Linked DNA regions of Homo sapiens: region 1 is linked to region 2. Evidence: promoter capture Hi-C in 16 types of primary human blood cells and fetal thymus (Javierre and others, 2016). All regions are on one chromosome and are shown on one strand. Each heading gives the region's core, a stretch centred on a gene start or on the middle of the fragment in contact. The rest is flanking DNA. Distances are from core to core; before and after follow the strand shown. Region 1 overlaps TANC2 (tetratricopeptide repeat, ankyrin repeat and coiled-coil containing 2). Region 2 holds the start of LIMD2 (LIM domain containing 2).

What was found. The method cuts DNA at HindIII sites, captures the fragments that hold promoters and counts their contacts. A CHiCAGO score of 5 or more calls a contact.
Region 1: a fragment that was not itself captured here is called in contact with the fragment with the promoter of LIMD2 in region 2 in 7 of 17 cell types (megakaryocytes, fetal thymus, activated CD4 T cells and 4 more); the score reaches 5.7 in megakaryocytes.

Annotation. Positions count from the first base shown.
Region 1 is chr17:63,414,554-63,417,794 of GRCh38, reverse strand. It overlaps TANC2 (tetratricopeptide repeat, ankyrin repeat and coiled-coil containing 2), which reads right to left. Exons shown (of 28, transcript NM_001394998.1): 26 at 2,121-2,267. Among named protein-coding and RNA genes, the nearest start is that of CYB561, 30 kb to the left of the region's middle. The HindIII fragment of the contact is 3,917 bases long and covers 1-3,241 here.
Region 2 is chr17:63,698,700-63,701,646 of GRCh38, reverse strand. LIMD2 (LIM domain containing 2) reads left to right here and starts at 1,522. Exons shown (of 5, transcript NM_030576.4): 1 at 1,522-1,615; 2 at 2,299-2,390; 3 at 2,578-2,619; 4 at 2,709-2,848; 5 at 2,936-2,947. The coding sequence starts at 2,349. It overlaps LOC729683 (a long non-coding RNA gene), which reads right to left and starts at 1,309. Exons shown (of 1, transcript NR_046273.1): 1 at 1-1,309. RefSeq lists enhancers at 44-143, 1-523, 524-1,109 and silencers at 814-1,773, 1,864-2,323, 2,414-2,643. The HindIII fragment of the contact is 14,945 bases long and covers 161-2,947 here.

The DNA of each region.
Region 1 (3,241 bases), core at 136-2,635, 280 kb after region 2:
GAGGGGGTGTCAGACAGACCTGGGTTCAATTCTCTGACCAGCTTCATAACCCCCAAGTGTATAGTGTATTTTCTCATCCATACCTACCCCGGGGGTAGGATCAAGTGTGATACAGTATTTAAAAGCCCTGCACAGTTCCCGGCACATAGTAGGTGCTCATTAATTATCGTTTTCTTTCTATTTCACAGAGGCTTCTCTGATCTGTTCCTTTTTTTAACTGGTTCCTTACTTAGGAAACACTTAAAATTAAAAATAAAACAAAACAAGAGAAGACCCCAGCTGTGACTGAGGTCTGTGCTCTCCCTAGAGGAACACGCTCACAGGCATGTCATTCCTGAGAACCCCTGGAAACAGAGACTGGGGGGTGGGGTGGGGAACAACGCCGACTAGGCAGCCTATGGTTTTCAGTATTCCCTTAAATACTAAGCTAAAAGAGAAGGCTTTCCCCTTCTTTTAGTGTCAAAGCCACAGTATAGCATGGTAGCCTCTGGTTATGGTCATGAGTCCTAAGGCAGAAAACAAGGCCTTGGGCAGAACAAAGGCCCTGGGGCATAGGTAAAAAAATTTTTTAAAAGTTGATGGGAAATCCTCTACCTAAGAAGACAGACGTCTGGTGTTTGGCACAGTATTGGCCCAGGAGGTGATTAACAACCGCTTCTGAACAAATGTGGAGCTAGAAAGAATTTCAGCTTTTATGGGTCACCCTCTCCCTGCTCTGCTTCCAGCCTTACCCTTTTATTTGTTCTTTTGGGACCATCATTATTCCTAAAAATATGAGGGCATTTTTAAAAAGTCTATTATTTGGTAGGGAAAAGAGATCAGTGGGTTGGCAGCAACTTCTGAGCTTTGCCTCATCCTCATCGGCTGGTGCAGGGGAGGCCTTGGTGCTGTTCCTTTCATTTCACAGGAGACCCCAAGAGCATGAAAATCTGTCTCCCGAGACCGCCACCTTCTCCCTTCCCGGGGTTGGGGGGCCTCTTCCACATCCCCACTTCCCTCAGCACCCTGGAGCAACTCTGCCTCTGAGGGCCATGGCCGTGTTCTCTGAGACAGTCAGGTTTAACTCTGCCTCTGAAGGTCATGGCTGTGTTCTCTGAGATAGGTTTAACTCTGCCTCTGAAGGTCATGGCTGTGTTCTCTGAGACAGTCAGGTTTAACTCTGCCTCTGAAGGTCATGGCTATGTTCTCTGAGACAGTCAGGTTTAACTCAGGTTCCTTCCAGTGTCAGGGTTTAGGGTCTGGAATGGATGATCTAAAGGTTACACACACAAATCTTTCTGGAAGATCCCTGGCCATGAGGTTCAAATCTTGCTTCTGTCCAGCTGAGTTTTTAATTGATCAATACATCTGTTTGGCTTGGATTATTTTTATCTCCTGAGGAACTGTGAGACCTCAGGCAGGTAGATGTCAGAGACTCCTGACACAATCTTAGCTATTTCCAAAACCTGAGAGAGGGTTCTTGGCTTGGAGTGTCTTCACGTTAAAGGGCAGTGGCTGAGGGAGCAGTGTCTGGGGACATGTGAGATGGGTCTGCAAGGTAGGCAGGAAGGACCGTGGCTTACCAGGGAGACGATAAAGGTCCAGGGGGAGTTCTGAGATTCCCCCTAGGACAAGAAGGGACATAGCATGCTGGGATACAAAGATGAGGAAAGAGGCGAAAAGTTCGATAGCCTCAGAAATTAAACCTTCAAGACCATGGTCCAAGCCCTCTCCTTAGCCCTTCTTCAAATGATAAGGGAATATACCTGAGAGTAATGACTACAATTCACATCTAATTGCAACTGGAATTCTAGTGACCACTGCTCTCACATTTTCCCAAAGACCAGAACACTGACTTGGTGGTATGGGGGTGGGAAAGATGGTATTCTCATCACTTTCAGTTAAATTATGAACATTCAGAAAGCTGCAAAGTACTCGCAGCATTAATTTCTGTACAGTTTGAGATACAGATTGTACTTAGACTTGATTTCTTTCAAATTGCAAATGTCAGTGCTCTGTGAAGGACAACCAAGTTCCAAATGGGGCAGAGGAGGATTTCAGGGGCCTGGTAAAAGCTAGTGAGTGACACAGGCTATCAGCTACCAGGATTGCAGAAAGGAGTTGGGGTGACAGGGACTTACGTTCATTTTCCTGCGACACCGAGAGAGGTTGAGGAGGAGAGACACCTTTAGTTCCCGGAAAGTTTTCAAGTCCTCACCAAACCCTTCTCTAGGGAACTTCTTCAGGGCGTACTGGTAGCGCTGGGCAGCTTCCTTTACTTTACCTTTCTAATGGGAGCACAAGATGGCGAAACACACAGTTGGTCTGCTGAACAGCTGAGGAAGTGTGGTCCCCACTCCCTTCTTCTTCTCAGCAGCTGTTACTAAGGGCTAACCCTCCCAAACGCCAGCCTAGAGAGGAGTTCTGGCCCTGATGGTGAGGGCAGAAGGGTCTAGTCTTTTCTATAGGAAACTCACCTGGCAGGAAAGGCAAGGTTGAGGGGATACCCAAGATACAAGCCAGGGAGGCAAAGCCTTGGCAAATGGAAGGCCCTGGACCCTGACTTCCCAACTGGATTCCAAAGAGGCTGACCATGCTCATTTCAAAGTTCCTTTGCTCTCTATAACACATATGACTTCCTAACCCCAAGCACTCCAAAGTTATTACTTCCTCCTTAATTTCTGGCTTGTCTGGAGAACTGTTTTTTTGGTCTGACGCTCCACCTGGCCAGCCCTCTAGAAGTCACTCTCTTCCTCATGAAGGATGTGGGAGCTAAAGCAGTCTAGCAGTTGCTTCCCTAATCTCATGGCATAAAATAATACCAATCAGTGTTCCCCATTTTTGGAAAGGCATGGAGTAGGGTGGCAGTAGAAAAGTGAAGTTTAGAGTTTGTGATTCCATCTGATGTTGCAGGAGGGATTATCCAAGAGGAAGTAAATCTATGACCAATTTAGAGATCTGGCCACAGCGACCTTGAACTTTTCTTCCACTTTGTATCTGAAAATCTATAAGCTGAGACCAGAAAGATGCAGGCGGCATCTCCCACCCCTTTAGCTGATCTTTATCCACTCTATTCCTTCTCTATAGTTACAACTCCACAGGGATCCCAGTCTTTTACTTTTCCCTTAGCACCATTCACTAAGGAGAGATTTGGAGTCTTTCAAGGTAGAATTCTGAGGGGAACAATAATGGCACTGCATATTTTCATTAAGAGGACTCCTCGCCTCAGAATACCAGAAGTTATGCTATAACCAGGACATAA
Region 2 (2,947 bases), core at 273-2,772:
CAATGCCCATCTGCAGCTCAGCCCACAGGCCCGTCCTGGGCAGGGTGCCGGGGCCTCACCATGCCCAATGGCAGCAAGCCCTGCTCCTAGTACCCCCGGGGCTTCCCGTTTCTTGCATCAAACAGCCCCTTTGGAGAATCTGATGACAGGTGTGGAAGCTTTCCCGAGAGGCAGCCACTTTAGAGGGTCTGACGCTCCCCACTAGAGAGTCGGCCCACAGTGCAGACAAAACGCAGATCTTCCTCTAGAGAGAACAGAAGGCTGGAGAGGAGACGCGGAGCCGGTCCGTGGAGTCCGCCAGCCTGGGAAACAGCTGGTCGCTGGGGAAGCTGCAGCCTCCCTGCTCCCCTGCCAGGCGTCGGGCGAGAGCTGTTCTGTTCCCTGACAAGCGCGTGGGCCGCCAGTGCTATTCCTGCCACAGTGTGGGAAGGCGCTGGGCTAAGGGCTGTGCTTCCCGGAGCTGCTTCTAGCCTGATTTCCGGCCAAGCCACGCAGTCCCTGGTGCCCGGGAAGGCGCCGGCCTCGCCGCCGCTCCAAAGCGAGTGGCCGTCTCTCGCCGGCTGTGCCTCCGGCCTGCTGTGCGGCTGCAGGGAGGGAGCAGCTCTGCGGCCCAAGCTCTGTCACCTCAGCTCTCTGGGCCGCGGCTCCCACGTGAGAAATGAGGTGCGCTTGTTGGAGAGGGGGCCCCCGTTGCTGCCCACAGAATTCCGCCCCAGAAACGCTTGAGTACGTGGAGCCTCGGGGGACGGGTGCTCCGGGAACCACGCATACCGGCCTCCCCAGCCCGTCGCAGGGTTGCAGAGGCGCCGAGGGCTGGGGGGGCTGCCGGGGCTGCCGGGCCCTCGTGCAGGCTCCTCCCCGCAGCCTCGCGGCCGGGCCTGGAGACCGCGTGCCCGGACGCCGCCGCCAGCCTCGTGGGCCGCAAAGGGGCGGGGGCGGCCCCTGGCGGCGGGAGGACTCGGCCGCCCGAGGGACCCCGGGCCAGGCTCCGGGGTCGCCCCGGCTGGGTCTCTGCGGCCCCACAGCTCTGGGCGGGGATGGGGGCGCCGGCGCCTACGCGCGAGGCCAACCGGGGGAAACCGAGGCAGTGAATGGCCCAGGCCCCGCCCGGTTATCCCGGAGCCAGGCCGGGAGCGCCCAGTGTCCCGCGACCGCAGCCGCCGCAGCCTGAACTCGTCCCCTCCCAGTAGGATGCGGAGCGCGGCCCTTCCATCCTGTCCCTGCCACCGTTGCTTCCCCACGCCGGGCCGCCGTCGGGATGGGCAGACGGCGCGGCCGGTACCCGAGGCCTGCGAGCGCGAGGCCCGCGGGGCGCTGCGGAGCCGGGAGCGCGGAGCCGGGGCGGGGGACAGACAAAGGCGGGGACGGCGGCGAGGGGAAGACAAAGCGCGGAGGGGGGTCGGCGGCGGCGCCGGGGCCCCGAAGGCGGCTCCGGGCGCGGCGGAGCCAATGGGCGGGCGCGGGGCGGGGGCCGGCGGGGGCGGTGCAGCGATAAGGCGGTGGCGGCGGCGGTGGCTCGGGGACCACTGGTAGCGGCAGCAGCTCGCGCCCGCGCCCTCCTCGTACCCGTGCGCCCCCGGAGACCGATCCCGCCCCGCGGCCCAGGCCGGGCCTGGTGAGAGCCGCGGGGGGAGGGGCCGCGTCCGGCTCCGGAACCGGGAGAGGCGCCGAGGGGTGTGGGGTGAGGGCCGCCCGTGGGGTCCCGGCGAGTCTGCGAGCCGCTCTCGCCCGGGGCGCACAGGCTCGAGTCCTCGTTTCAGGGCCGGCCCCCGGCTGGGCGGAGCCGAGACCCGCTGGCGGGGCTCGCGGCGTCGGGGTCTGGGGTCCGGTCCTCGCGGGGCCAGGTCGGGGGCCGAGGGGCGGGGCGGGCGGGGACCTCGGGCGCTGTCCAGGGGCTGCGCAGCCTAGGCCTGGACGCCCGGGCGCGGCGCAGGGCAGCGAGGGCCGGGGTCAGGTCGGGGCAGCGGCTTCTCATCGCGGCCCCGCCGGCCCCGACCTCCCCTCACCCCAAGCGGTCCCAGCCCGCGGGACGCACACGGCGGCTGCGCGGGAGCCCCCGGCCCCTCCGCTCCCGCTAACTTTGTTCTTCCGAGGGACGGTGCCACTCGGGACCCCGGCCCCTGGGGAGCAGGGGTGGGGGAGGTGGGTGAGGGGCGGAAGTGGCAAGACCAAGAGCAACAGGAAATGACTTAGGGAAAGTCCCAACCGCAATCCCCCCAGCCCCTGCCTGTCAACACCCCCCACCCTGCAGGCTGGGGCCGGGCTGGCGGGGCCCTCCCGACTGACTTCCCCTTGCAGAACCCAGCGGGTGCCGCTTCTCCACCCGAGGCTTCCACCTCCAACGAGCCATGTTCCAGGCTGCAGGAGCCGCCCAGGCCACCCCCTCTCATGTAAGTGCCCGGCTGGGTGGGAGGGCCCCCCGGACAGGAGCCTGGCCTGGGGTGAAGGGGAGAGGCATCAGAGTTTGCCGGCCCCCTTTGTGCCCTGCGGCGCGCCCCTGGGCCTTGGGCTGATGGCTGCAGCCCTGATCCAGGGCCTCCCGGAGCTGCCCCTGCCCTGACCGCCCCTCTCCCTCAGGACGCCAAAGGCGGCGGCAGCAGCACGGTGCAGCGCTCCAAGGTAGGGGCCTGGGGCCGGGTGTGCGGGAGGAGGGGTGTGAGGGAGCGGGATGAGCACTGGGGCAGCACCTGGCTGAGCTTCCCGCACAGTCCTTCAGCCTGCGGGCCCAGGTGAAGGAGACCTGCGCCGCCTGCCAGAAGACCGTGTACCCCATGGAGCGGCTGGTGGCCGACAAGCTCATTTTCCACAACTCTTGCTTCTGCTGCAAGCACTGTCACACCAAGCTCAGGTGCGCCCCTGCCCTGCCCGCCCCCGCCTCGCCTGCCAACCCAGCCCCGACCTGACCTGACCTGACGCCGTTGTTTGGCTTCTGCAGCCTGGGCAGCTA